2 separate regions of the Homo sapiens genome follow, and region 1 is linked to region 2. Evidence: promoter capture Hi-C in 16 types of primary human blood cells and fetal thymus (Javierre and others, 2016). All regions are on one chromosome and are shown on one strand. Each heading gives the region's core, a stretch centred on a gene start or on the middle of the fragment in contact. The rest is flanking DNA. Distances are from core to core; before and after follow the strand shown. Region 1 overlaps KIF5A (kinesin family member 5A). Region 2 holds the start of TSFM (Ts translation elongation factor, mitochondrial).

What was found. The method cuts DNA at HindIII sites, captures the fragments that hold promoters and counts their contacts. A CHiCAGO score of 5 or more calls a contact.
Region 1: a contact is called between a fragment that was not itself captured here and the fragment with the promoter of TSFM in region 2, in 3 of 17 cell types (naive B cells, total B cells and naive CD4 T cells). The highest score is 6.6, in naive B cells.

What each region holds. Positions count from the first base shown.
Region 1 is chr12:57,575,869-57,581,914 of GRCh38, reverse strand. KIF5A (kinesin family member 5A) reads right to left here. Exons shown (of 29, transcript NM_004984.4): 18 at 5,764-5,828; 19 at 5,537-5,646; 20 at 5,053-5,154; 21 at 4,142-4,202; 22 at 3,835-3,906; 23 at 3,573-3,677; 24 at 743-959; 25 at 347-500; 26 at 1-45. Among named protein-coding and RNA genes, the nearest start is that of PIP4K2C, 12 kb to the left of the region's middle. The HindIII fragment of the contact is 6,349 bases long and covers 1-5,122 here.
Region 2 is chr12:57,778,691-57,785,073 of GRCh38, reverse strand. TSFM (Ts translation elongation factor, mitochondrial) reads right to left here and starts at 2,287. Exons shown (of 6, transcript NM_005726.6): 1 at 2,216-2,287; 2 at 1,791-1,964. The coding sequence starts at 2,272. EEF1AKMT3 (EEF1A lysine methyltransferase 3) reads right to left here. Exons shown (of 3, transcript NM_015433.3): 3 at 2,533-4,819. The coding sequence ends at 4,428. RefSeq lists enhancers at 2,234-2,303, 1,657-2,526. The HindIII fragment of the contact is 6,425 bases long and covers 1-5,156 here.

The sequences.
Region 1 (6,046 bases), core at 699-3,198, 200 kb after region 2:
CCGCCAGAAGATGTGGCTCCACTGCTGGTACAGGAGTTTGCAAAGCTGGATGGAGCAGAGGAAAGAGGCAGCCTCTGACACCCACCCTCCACTAGTCTGAGGACCACTAATCCACACTCATCCTCAGTGATAGAGCTGCTCAGCCCTCCCCATCCCCAGAGAGCAGAGGAAAACAAACATGGCCACAGGCTGGGAGGGCAGACACCTACCTTCTAATCATAGGCATGAAGTTGAGAAAGGGTTTAGGAAAATAATTAAGCCACAACCAATAACTGCCCCCACCCTATGCCTTCTAGGGTCCAGGGAGCTTTGGGTGGGACTCCAACCCACACGTGTGGTCACTCACTACATATCTGAGGTGGAGCTGGGTGTGGCCTGCAGGTAGAGATTCTGGTAGTTCTGGAAGAGGCTGTTGGTGTAACTGATGCACTCAGGGCTCCGGGTGCCATAGGGGTTGGTGGGTGAGGATGCTGGGTAGTGGCCAGGCCGGACGGGTTTGGCTGCAATAAAGAAAGAAAACAACCATGAGGAGGCTATGACCCTGCATTTGCCCTGGTCCCTGAGGTCATTTAGCTGGGGTTGAACTGAGTTGCTTGTAACATAATCACTTTTTTACTTTTTGGGGGGAAGTGGGATGAGGCTAGGGGTAGGTAAGAAGCAATAATCTAGTTGCTTGGCAATTAGCAATTTGCTAAATTTGCTTCAGGAGATACTCCCACCTTGCCTGCTAACACCTACTCACCAATCTGGGCAGAATGGCCCCGTTTGCCCGAGCTCTTGTAGCGAACGGCCTCCTTGATGCGGTCCACCTCCTGCTGGTACCGGCGCTTGTCCTTCATGGCGCCCTCCTTGGCCTCCTTCAGTGCACCCTCCAGGGCCTTAACTCTCTCAGCCGTAGCCCTAAGTCGTTTTTCCAATTTAGGAAGCTCACAACGCAGATCTGCATTGTCACGTACCAGCTATGGGGCAAGCCAAAGGGAAGAAGTGGAAAGGAAGGCAAGTGACCCAAGACGGTCACCCAGAGGAGCGTAGGGGACAGGGGTGAGGAGAGAGAATAAAGAAAAATCAGGAGTCAGAGAAGATGGAGACCATGTCATTTCCTCAAAAGGCCTCATTGCCTTTATGTAATGGACTGTTCTGTCCAGCTCATTCCTTCTCCCAGAGCGAAGGGTGGGTGGTCAGGCATTTAAAAGTTATATAATTTTCTAGGCAGTAAAACCTGCCATCTCCACTGCAGCCCAGAACTCTTGTGAGAGCGCCTTGTCCTGTCTCCATCTGGTTTCCCCCACATCTCCCAGCATGTGCCAGATCAATAGCCCCAGGGCGGCCATGGGGATGAGGGACCCGCTTCCCCAGAGAGGGCTTTGTGGGCATGCAAAGGGTGGGGCAGCAAGGGCACAGTAGCAGTTTGGTGGCTGTGGCATTGAGGAGAATCTGTGCATGGCAGGTGCAGTGCAGAGCAGGAGCAGAAGCTGGAATTCAGGAGCCCCTGACATACACATATAGACAGGCAGAGCCCGCCCCGTAGGAAGGAAAGAAAATGTTTGAGGTCTCACAAACATTTGCACTCATTACCTTCACATTCAAGGACTTCCTGGGTTATCCCTCCCCCAGTGAAATTAAGCTAGAGCATGGGAGCAACCACCCTGCAGCCCGAAAAGACTTCCTGATCTTTTTACAGGTTCCACACAATGACTGGGGGCACTATAGGTTGCAAAAGGAGCAGGGCCTTGGAAGACAGCGGGTAAATCAGCATAGCGGGGAACACTGGGGGCTCAAGGGGACAAGCTAGAAACCCTTCCATGCAGTTTCCATTTGGACAATTTATGGAGTATAAGCAATGTTTTGCTGTGACAATACTTTAGCTTAATTGATATAGGGCTATAGTCCTGGCTGTTAAGATTCTCTTAACTGAGAAGTTTTTATCTCCTTTTCCTTTTTACTCTTGTGTCTGCTGAGGTAGGAAATTGTAGTGAGTCCTCTATTTATCCTATAGGTGAGTCATTTTTGTTTTTTTGGGACTTTGAACAGAGGCAGAGGCTTCAGTGACGATAAAGGAAACAGTGTGTGGTTGTGTTTTTTCATGGAAATTTTTCTGGGGCTTGCTCCATAGAGCAGGGCTTTCCCATAGGCAGAGAGGCCCAGAGTAGCACACACATGTGTGTGTGTGTTCTAAGCAACATAATATGGATTTGGACAGAGAGGGAAAGTGAATGCGGGAATGAAAATCGAATGGCAGAATTGATTTCAAATGTTTCCTATCTGCCTTTCAACTTTTCTATAATTTTGTTACTCAGTTTCATAATAAAGGAAATAAAATCGTAGCAAAGCCCTCTGCAGGCCTAAATAAGATAAATAAACTCTGTACATTATCACTGGGCACAGGTTTAGGATTCATTAAGAAAAAAAAAAGTACTGAATATTTACTATATAAGCTGGGCATTATACTGGGAGGAAAAGAAGTTTAAGTGCTAGGCTAGTGAGAATGTAAGTTTAAATGGAATCTTAAGGTAGATTTGAAAGGAAAGGAATGAAGTATAGGTTAGGGTTTATTTTATGAATTAGTTAAAAGGACCAGTTGACAGCCTGCCGAGCCTGTCTTCAAGGCTCAGATATTTAGTGCTAGTGAGAGTGCCCCTACCCAGCATGCACCAAACATTTCCTGTCCTGACTCCTTTGGACTGCCCTTCTGCATCCCCAGCCCATACCTTTGAAACCCAGTCATCCACCTAAAGAACCGCAACAGCAAGGAGGGGGACAGAGAGGCAGCAACTTAATACACAGGAGTTTTGACTGGGGCCCCAACCAGGGGCTGGTTGGGCCATCTTAGGGACATCATTTTTTTTTAATTGAAACAGGGTCTCACTCTGTCACCTAGGCTGGAGTGCAGTGGCATGATCACAGCTCACTGCAGCCTCTACTTCCTGCGCTCAAGCAATTGCCCTACCTCAGCCTCCCAAGTAGCTGGGACTATGGGTGTGTGCCACCACATCCGGCTAATTTTTGTATTTTTTGTAGAGATGGGGTTTCGCCATGTTGCTTAGGCTGGTCTTGAACTCCTGTGCTCAAGTGATCCGCCCGCCTCGGCTTCCTGAAGCGCTGGGACTACAGGCATGCACCACTGTGCCTAGCCAGGGACATCATTTAATGTCCCTGCATGCCTGCCACAGACCTAGACAGATGGAGTTCTCTCCACGAAAGAAGCCCAACTCCCTTGCTTCTTCTCATCTCCCTGCCTTCCATCTCTGGGTAACGTCTGACCAGTCTCCCTCCTGTATAGTTACAGCCCATGCCTCTGTTAGTTTCAACCTCTCCCTCCAAGGTAGGCCTGGGGAATTCCACTTTGAGCAGAGGTGGGTTAGAAACTTTGAGAAGGGAATACAGGCATGAAACAAAGAACAAGGTACAAGTGGACCAAATATGGTATAAAGAAGGGATTAGTAGGGAAAGTAAAAGCGAACAGTAAGGAAAACATGCAACTAGATTTTCCTGAATCCAAGGGGCCTCTGAGGATTTGGTATGCTAGCTACCCGGCCTCAAAAATTCTCTTCACTCCTTCAGCAGACTCTTACCTGTTTGTGAACCTTTGTAAGCTGTTCCAGGTTGTTCTCAAGAAAGGAAATCTTCTGCTTTTGGGAGTGAATCCCCCCACTGTCTTCGGGCTCCATTTCTGCACTCTGAGAACAGATAGAAGGAAAGACGTGGCTGTCCTGAGGCCAAACAGGTCCCACCAAGACCAGGCCAAGCCAGCCCCATAGGGGCAACAGGGGCAGGAGAAACCTAAGGATAGGAGGAGGATGTGGGGGCTGACAAAACCCCAAGGACAGCACTCACTTTCTTGACTCGAGTCGTGACGTCTTGAACGAACAGCTTGCGAAGGTTGTGGAGGGTCTGGAGTTCCCGGGCCTGGAAAGAATGATGAAAAATTGGGAATAGCCAGATACCAGGTCTGTCCTATTCCTCCAGAATTATAGGTACCTCCAGTCTCTATAATCAAGTGAGTCACTTATCCTTTAGGAAAAAATGTGTCTTGATTACGCTACAGAATGGCTGCAAAAGGGCAGGAGGAATAGGGTTAGGAAGAAATGAAGCCTCCCCACTCCCCAGTCCTGTGAATTTGGCACAGAAGGGAACCACTCACAACTGTCTCCTCCAGACCCTTGAGGTCCTGCTTGGACTGCTCATGTCGCTCGTACAGAAATCTGTAGCAAGAGAAATAAGGGAAATGGAAAGATCCCTCAGGACTCTCCTTCCTCCTGCCTCTTCCTCTATTACTTTTATCTCCATTTAAGTATTACTATTATTGTTATTTTGTGAAACAGGGTCTCATTCTGTTACCTAGGCTAGATAGAGTACAGTGGCACAATCAGGGCTCACTGCAGCCTCAACCTCCTGGGCTCAAGGGATCCTTCCCACCTCAGCCTCCCAAGCATCTGGGACCACAGACGTATGCCACCATGCCCAGCTAATTTTTGTATTTTTAGTAGAGACAGGGTTTTGCCATGTTGCCCAGGCTGGTCTCGAACTACTGAGCTCAAGCAGTCCACCTGCTTTGGCCTCCCAAAGTGCTGAGATTATAGGTGTAAGCCATCGCACCCAGCCTATTATTATTTATTACACAAGTTACTCATGTTTACTGTGCAAAAATTAGAAAAGAATTTTAAAGAGAGACATAAGGTGAGTTTTTATAAAAAGCCTATGATTCTACTATTTACAGATCAAACCAACATTAACCTTCTGGTGTCCACCTTTCTAGACTTTTTTCTATGCCTACATATCCATGTATACATTTTTATGGGATCATACCATGCATATGGTTTTGTAACCTGTTTTTACACTGAATAGAACACGTAAACCTCCTTCCATACTGGTGAATACTCAACGGCAGTCTTTGCTGAGAGTGTCCTTTTGGTCCCGTCCCTACCCCATCATATTTTTCCCATGAGTCACCCTATCATGTCTGCATGTGTGTCCTGCCTCTGCAAGCGTGTCTGAGTTCACAGTTCTGAGCCTACAAGGCTGTAGTTTTACAGGTAAATCCATGCCACTCACGTCAGCTCCTGCAGCTTGGTGCTCTTCTCGTGTTCTTCGCTCTTCAGCTTCTCGTAGTCAGCCTGAAGCTTCTCTAGCTCTAACTGGAGCTTCTGATTTAGGCTACAGAGCATCAGAAGGTAATGGAGATGGGGGAGAAAGATGTTAATGAGGGGGAAGGGAAGGCCAGCTCTTCAAACTTCTTCCTTTTTGAACGAGTGAGTCCAGTTAGAATTGATGTGTCCACCTTCAGATACCAGAGGCAGACTCAGGCCACTGTTTCCATGACAGAGCCAGGAACCCTGACCTCTCTAATCCTGGGACCCTCAAGGATAGGGACTAGTCGTTATTCCATGTGTCTCCTGAGGTGGGGCTACGAAGTTGTGGCATTGTTGAGGGAATGACACATGGATGTTAAAGAATCAGACCCAGAGGGGACATGTGAGTCAATACAGCAAGGTGACAGGACCCGGGAGGGGCTGGAGTCGCCCTTGGGAACCCTTACTCTTTGAGCTCATCAATGGTCTTCTGCTTCTCGTTGATCTCGTCCCGGAGCCGGGCCAGCTGCCGGTGATGGGCCTCCCGGTGACTCTCCATCTGCAGCTCCAGAGCCTTCTGCAAACAACCCCACCCCAAGCTCAAAGGCCAGACTCCCAGCAACAAGCTCTGTGAGGGCCAGCACAGCTTTCACCACACCAGGCCCCAATTGTCCCTGACACCTTCCTTACTCACCTTCACTTCATCTGCATCCTGAGTGTCAGGCTCCTTGTCCTTCAGGGCCACTTCATGCACAGTTTCTAAGGGAAAGAGGGGAAGACAGCTGACATCAAACCTACCTCTTTCGGAAAGAACTTCACGTTGTGACCAGAACTCCAGGCAGGGCTGGGAATGGACCCACAGGGATGTTCTTCTGTGTTAGGACTGTCCAATTTGATATAGCAGGAACAGAGAACAAGGGTGTATGGTTAATGTAAAATGAGCTACATGCAAAACCTTGGCTAACATATGAGTTGGC
Region 2 (6,383 bases), core at 1,038-3,537:
GCGCCTGTAGTCCCAGCTACTCAGGAGGCTGAGGCAGGAGAATGGTGTGAACCTGGGAGGTGGAGCTTGCAGTGAGCCAAGATTGTGCCACTGCAGTCCAGCCTGGGGGACAGAGTAAGACTCTGTCTCAAAAAAAAAAAAAAAAAAAAAAAAAAAAGATATTTCAATAAAAAAAGTTGTTGTTTTTTTTTTTGAGACAGAGTTTCACTCTTATTGCCCAGGCTGGAGTGCAATGGCACGATCTCGGCTCACCACAACCTCCGCCTTTTGGGTTCAAGAGATTATCCTACCTCAGCCTCCCGAGTAGCTGGGATTACAGGCCCTTGCCACCACACCAGGCTAATTTTATTTTTTTTTAGTAGAGACGAGGTTTCTCCGTGTGGGTCAGGCTAGTCTCGAACTCGCAACCTCAGGTGATCCGCTTGCCTCAGCCTCCCAAAGTTCTGAGATTACAGGCATGAGCCACCACGCCCAGCCAAAAAAAGTTTAAAATTTTAAAAACAGAAAAAAGCTCACAGAAAAAGTGCATAAAGAAAAATATTTTGGTACAGCTGTACAATATGTGTTTTATGCTGTTATTACAAAAGAGTCCAAAAATTTAAAACATGTTAAAAGTTTATAAAATAAAAATGTTACATTAAACTAAGGTTAACTTATTATCACAGAAAAAAATTTCTTATAAATGTAATGTAGCTTATGTGTACTGTGCTTTAACGTCTACTATAGTGCACCATAGTGTCCTAAGGCAGGCCTTCATATTCACTCACCACTCACTGACTCACCCAGAGCAACTTCCAGTCCTGCAAGCTCCATACATGATAAGTTCCCTATGGAGATGTATCGTTTTTTATCTTTTATGCCTATTTACTGTACTTTTTCTATGTTTAGATACACAATACTTACCACTGTGTTACAACTGCCTACAGTATTCAGTCCAGTAACATTTTGTAACGGTTTGTAGCCTAGGAGCAGCTGGCAATTCCATATAGCCCAGGTTGTAGTACAATATACCATCTAGGTTTGTGTAGGTACTCTATGATGTGCATAAGCCAAAATCTCCTAACGACGCCATTTCTCAGAATGTATCTTCCTATTAAGAGACGCATGACCGTACAGGCAAAAACTACACAACTCTGAAAGATTAAGATGTCTAAAGTCAGCCGGGCGCGGTGGCTCACTCCTGTAATCCCACCACTCTGGGAAGCCGAGGCGGGCGGATCACCTGAGGCCAGGAGTTCGAGACCAGCCTGGCCGACACGGCGAAACCCCATCTCTACTAAAAATACAAAAAAAAATAAAAAATAAAAAATAAAATAGCCGGGTGTCGTGGCGCACGCCTGTAATCCCAACTACTCAGGAGGCTGAGGCAGGAGAATCGCTTGAACCCGGGAGGCGGAGGTTGCAGTGAGCCAACATCGTGCCATTGCACGCCGGCCTGGGCCACAGAGCAAGACTCCGTCTGAAAAAAAAAAAAAAAGTCTAAAGTCAGACAGTGTGGGGGCCCCACAATTTGACTCCTGAACAATCTGACTCCAAAGCTCACACAAACCCTTTCAGCTCCAGGCAACAAGAAACACCGTAACAGTCTGGTTTGTTAATCCTGGGATACTCAACTGCTTTCAAATAAGACAAAGTCAAGGCCAAGGTTGTCATTTAAGCCAGATTTCCACTTAGGACTGTGCCATTATGGTCACTGAAGAGCAGTCTAACTTTATGCTCCCCAGCGTGACCGCCCCAAGAGTCTGAGGTCGAGCTCTAGTACTCCGCCCTGCACCCCTCCACACACACACCTGTTTGAGGTCCCCGCCACAAGTCTCCAGAGCTTTCTTGCAATTTACAAAGGAGTAGCCTGTTTTCCGCCGCAGCTTCATGAGGAGCTCCTTGCTGGAGGCCGAGGCAGACAGACGGGGCCCAGCATAAAATGTGTGCCTTGGCTGGGGCGACTGACGCAGAAGAGACCCAGCCTAGATGAGATAAGAAAGGGATGAGGAGCAGGAAGCAGCAAACTCCAGAGGGTGAAGGGTACACGGGCAGGGAAGCGACCTTAGGGAGCGGACAGTGTGCAAAGGGGGGTGCACCGGGGCTGGACTGGGCAGAGGCAATGCTGTCGGGGAAGGTGAGATGGAGTCAAACGAGGTTGGGAGGAAGGGAAAGGTACAGGCGCACAGGAGAGCTGCAGGGACAGCAGGTCGGTACCAGCACCAGGACTTCTCACCGGGTAGCTCCCGGTCCGCGCGACCAGAAACACGCGCAGCGACCGCAGCAGCGACATCTCTCTAGCCGCGATAAACACCCTCCGGCGGGCGCACTGGTGAGGCAACAAACCTACGGCGCGGCGGAAGGGCCAGAATTCTCCAGCGGAACGCACCAAACGAGTATGGTGCCACCTGCTGGCCGGAGGAACACAGTCCTCGCCTCTACTTGATTTCTTGAGACGACACATTTCATACGGGAATTACCCCCCACCTCCCACCCCAGGTAAAATAACAGAAACCAAGAAATAAAGTCGTCACAAAACAACAACACAAGAAATGTGGGTAACATTTTATGTTTATTTTCAATGCGCATTTATATTCATTATCCATTTATGACTCACAACAAACTTGTGTGGTTGGTGAATGGGTTCGAGAATTTGTCCAAGGTCACCTAGGAAGGCAGGGGTGGAATCCATTAAACAAAGCGAGTAAATATTTATTGAATGAGCACAATATCTGTTGAACACCTGTTGTGTGCCAGGAACTGTGTTAGGCTTCAGGGGTTTAGACAGGAGTAAACCACAGCCCTACCCTCCAAGGTAATTTAATGGTGAGAAAATGAGAATCACAAATGTCCATGCAAGACAAATTAAGGTCCCATAAGATGAACCTTATGGGTCTCAGGGAGAAAGAAATCACATTCAAGCAAGAGGCTCAGGAAAGAGGCAAAGAATAATGAAGATTTTGACAGGTGGCAATAGCCTTTCAGGCAGAGGATTATCATAAAGAGTGTGAAAGAAGTCAGAAAACTTTAGTGTGGTTTTAGAGAACAAAGAGTACATCTTTTGTAATTTGGCCAGAGGTCCAATACACGTAGCAAAGGAGTAGGAAATGCAATAGGAAGGTAATTTTGGATCACATGGACACAGACTAAGTACCAAGCAGAGGAGCTTGTTCTTGCTTCTACAGGAAGTGAAAGCTAATCAGAGCTAATTTTGGAAGATCACAAGAGTTTGCGGAATGGACTGAAGGAGAAAGCATGGAAGCAGGGAGTCCAGAGAAGGTGACTATGTGCCTAAGCAGTAAGTAAAGAGAGCCCCAACCAGAAGTACCAATGTGGGAAGAGAAAAGAGGTTAAGGCAAAACACATTAGGAACTGTGTTAGGCTTCAGGGGATTAGAGATTAGGAAGGAAGGACTGATGAAGCTAAAGAAAAATCAAAGATGAAAAGAACTTAGTACTAGGTACAGTATTCTTCTGCACACAATGATGTTCCGTGATCAAGGCTCTAACTCTGGAAAGCATGAAGAAATACAGTCCAAAGGACAGCTCTGCAGCCTTAGCTTCAGAGCTAGGAGGACTTGACCCAGTTAGAGCCATGGTTCCACTAGACTCTATCTCTAAAAAGCAGGAAATGGGTGGTTTGAGGCTTCTTCCTTCTCAGCTCCTGAGTAAAAGTTGGGTTCTTGCACAATAGATTTTTAAGGCTTAATTCTTTCTTAAAAAAAAAAAAAAATCCTAGGCTAGCACAGTGGGCCATGCCTGCAATCCCAGCACTTTGGGAGGCAAGGCGGGTGGATCACTTGAGCCCAGGAGTTTGAGACCACCCTGGGCAACATGGCGAAACCCTGTCTCTACTGAAAATACAAAAATTAGCCGGGTGTGGTGGCGCATGCCTCTAGTCCCAGCTACTTGGGGAGCTGAGGCAGGAAGATCATCTGGGCCTTCAGAGGTTGAGGCTGCAGTGAGCTGTGATCACACCACTGCACTCCAGCCTGGATGACAGAGTGAGACCCTGTCTCAAAAAAAAAGAAAAAAAGAAAAAAAAATCCCACAGAATTTTTTTAAAGTCCATTCTGTGTAAACAGCAACAGGAATGGAAGTGATCAGTGACAGTCTGTCTACAATCACTGCTCTCACATCCCATATATCTCCCTTACCCCCTAAAAATCCTGGATACCTTACCATCCTCCTTCTCTGAGAACAGGAGCCAGGAACCTCCTTGGTGTTCTAACACTAGTGCTGCCAGAACTCTGGGATTCCTTGTAAGCAGGCACCTCACTGCACCTGCCCAAGAGTATCTGGGGTAACAAAGAGGGAAGGAGGAAAGTGAGAGAGGCCAGGGAAATCCATCCTTTTTGGTCCTCATGTTTGTGGCTCTGGAAATATGGTTTTTGAGATACACAGTTCCTTCATTAGAGCAAGAGATTGAGAAGAACAGCAAGGGTGATGTCAAGCAGGTCTTGGTTCCCTGTGCCTGGCCCTATAGATGTTGACATTTTCATCCTCATCCCGCTGAGCCAGCTCCAGTTGGAAATGCTGGGGCAGGAGGTGCTGAAAGAAGCTCTCTGTCCCATGCTCCTTTCTCATCTTGGAGGCCAGATAGATGGTGCCATGGGGCCTGCACAGGTGTTGGAGGGTCCCCAGCAGCAGAGGGAAGGTGGGTTCCAGGTACACGATATCAGCCCCCAGCACCAGGTCATAGTTTGCAGGGAAGACATGATGGTCAATCCCCCAGGACAAGGCACGCACCTGGGCCTGGCCTCCAGCTGGCACATTGGCCTGGACGTTGCCCTGGATCTGTTCTAGGGCCAGGGGCAGGTCAGTGATGGTAACATCCCCCCCTGAGAGAGAGGAAGGAGGAAAAATGCAAGTCAGAGGAACCAACCAAGGGTTCTTGGCTCCTGCCTGGAAGGTCCAGAGACCTCAGAGCATAGAGGACAATGTCTTGACAGCCCAGAGCCCACACTGGCTTTTAGTTGCCTCAACCTCCATTTCACCCACTGCTATTCTCATTACTCTACATTCTACAACATCAACATTCTCTCTGAGCTAATCTTCAACCTCTCTGGCCAACACACAACAATCAGATGTCAGCAGAAGCCTGGGCAGGACTAAGCTGGAGATGGGTTCTGTACCCACCCCCACTGACACAAGCTCGCCTTAAGGGTCTGGAAAGCTTCCCAGAAAATGTGACCTCAGCTGAGCCCTAAAGGACAAGTAGGAGTTAGTCAGGTGGAGCTTTCCAAGAAGAGAACAGTGAGTACAAAGGCCTGGGAGTGAAAGAGCATGGCATATTCAGGAAAGGCTGCATCTTAGAGGATGTGGAAGGGGGAGAAAAGTGTCAAGACATGAGACAAAGGGAAAGTGATTATGACATGCTAAGAAGATTCAGGTTCGATACTGAGGGCAGTAAGCTTTAAGGGCAGAAACGGGTGAAGATGGTCAGATTAGCATCTCAGAAACCTTCATTCATGCAGTAGATATAATTTGGAGAACCTTCTAAGTGCTGGGTATATAAGGTGAGCAAGACAAAAACACAGCTTTCTTTGTTTCATTCTAGAGGTAGAGACACACTAGGTACTGCATCATAATCATGATGACTATGATAGAAAGAGAAGCAAGAAGTACTAGGAATCCATTCATTCATTCATATTTATTATGTGCCTATATGCCAAGTGCTGAGAACATAATGATGAACTAAGAAGATAAGAATCCCCCCTCACAGAGCTTATGGTCCAGTGGCAAGAAACAGATGATAACAACAAACAAAATAAATAAAATAAAATACACTGTACATCAGATGGTAATATATGCCATGGTGAAGCCCCAAGCAGGGAAGGGGGATAAGAATTGCTTGAGGGATGGGGAGAAATGCAAGTTAGAGGGACCAACCAAGGGTTCTCGGCTCCTACCTGGAAGGTCCAGAGACCCCAGGGCATAGAGGACAAAGTCTTGGCAGCCTGAATGTAATTTTAAATTGAGTGGCTGGAGAATGAAATTTTAAATTGAGTGGTCAGACCAGCCTGACCAAAATGGTGAAACCCCATATCTACTAAAAATACAAAAAAATTAGCTGGGTGTGGTGGCGGGCGCCTGTAATGCCAGCTACTAGGGAGGCTGAGGCAGGAGAATCGCTTGAACCTGGGAGGCGAAGGTTGCAATGAGCCGAGATTGTGCCATTGCACTCCGACCTGGGCAACAAGTGCAAGACTCTGTCTCAAAAAAAAAAGAATGGCACACGCTGGCATGCTTTAGGAGGAGCATGCTGGCTGCTATGATGAGAAGAGTACAGGAGGGCAAGGTCAGAAGCTAGGAGACCAGTTAGGAGGTGATGGCAATGACTCAGGTGAGAGATGATGATGGTTTAAACCAGGGCAGTAGCAATGGCTAAGAAATGGTCAGATC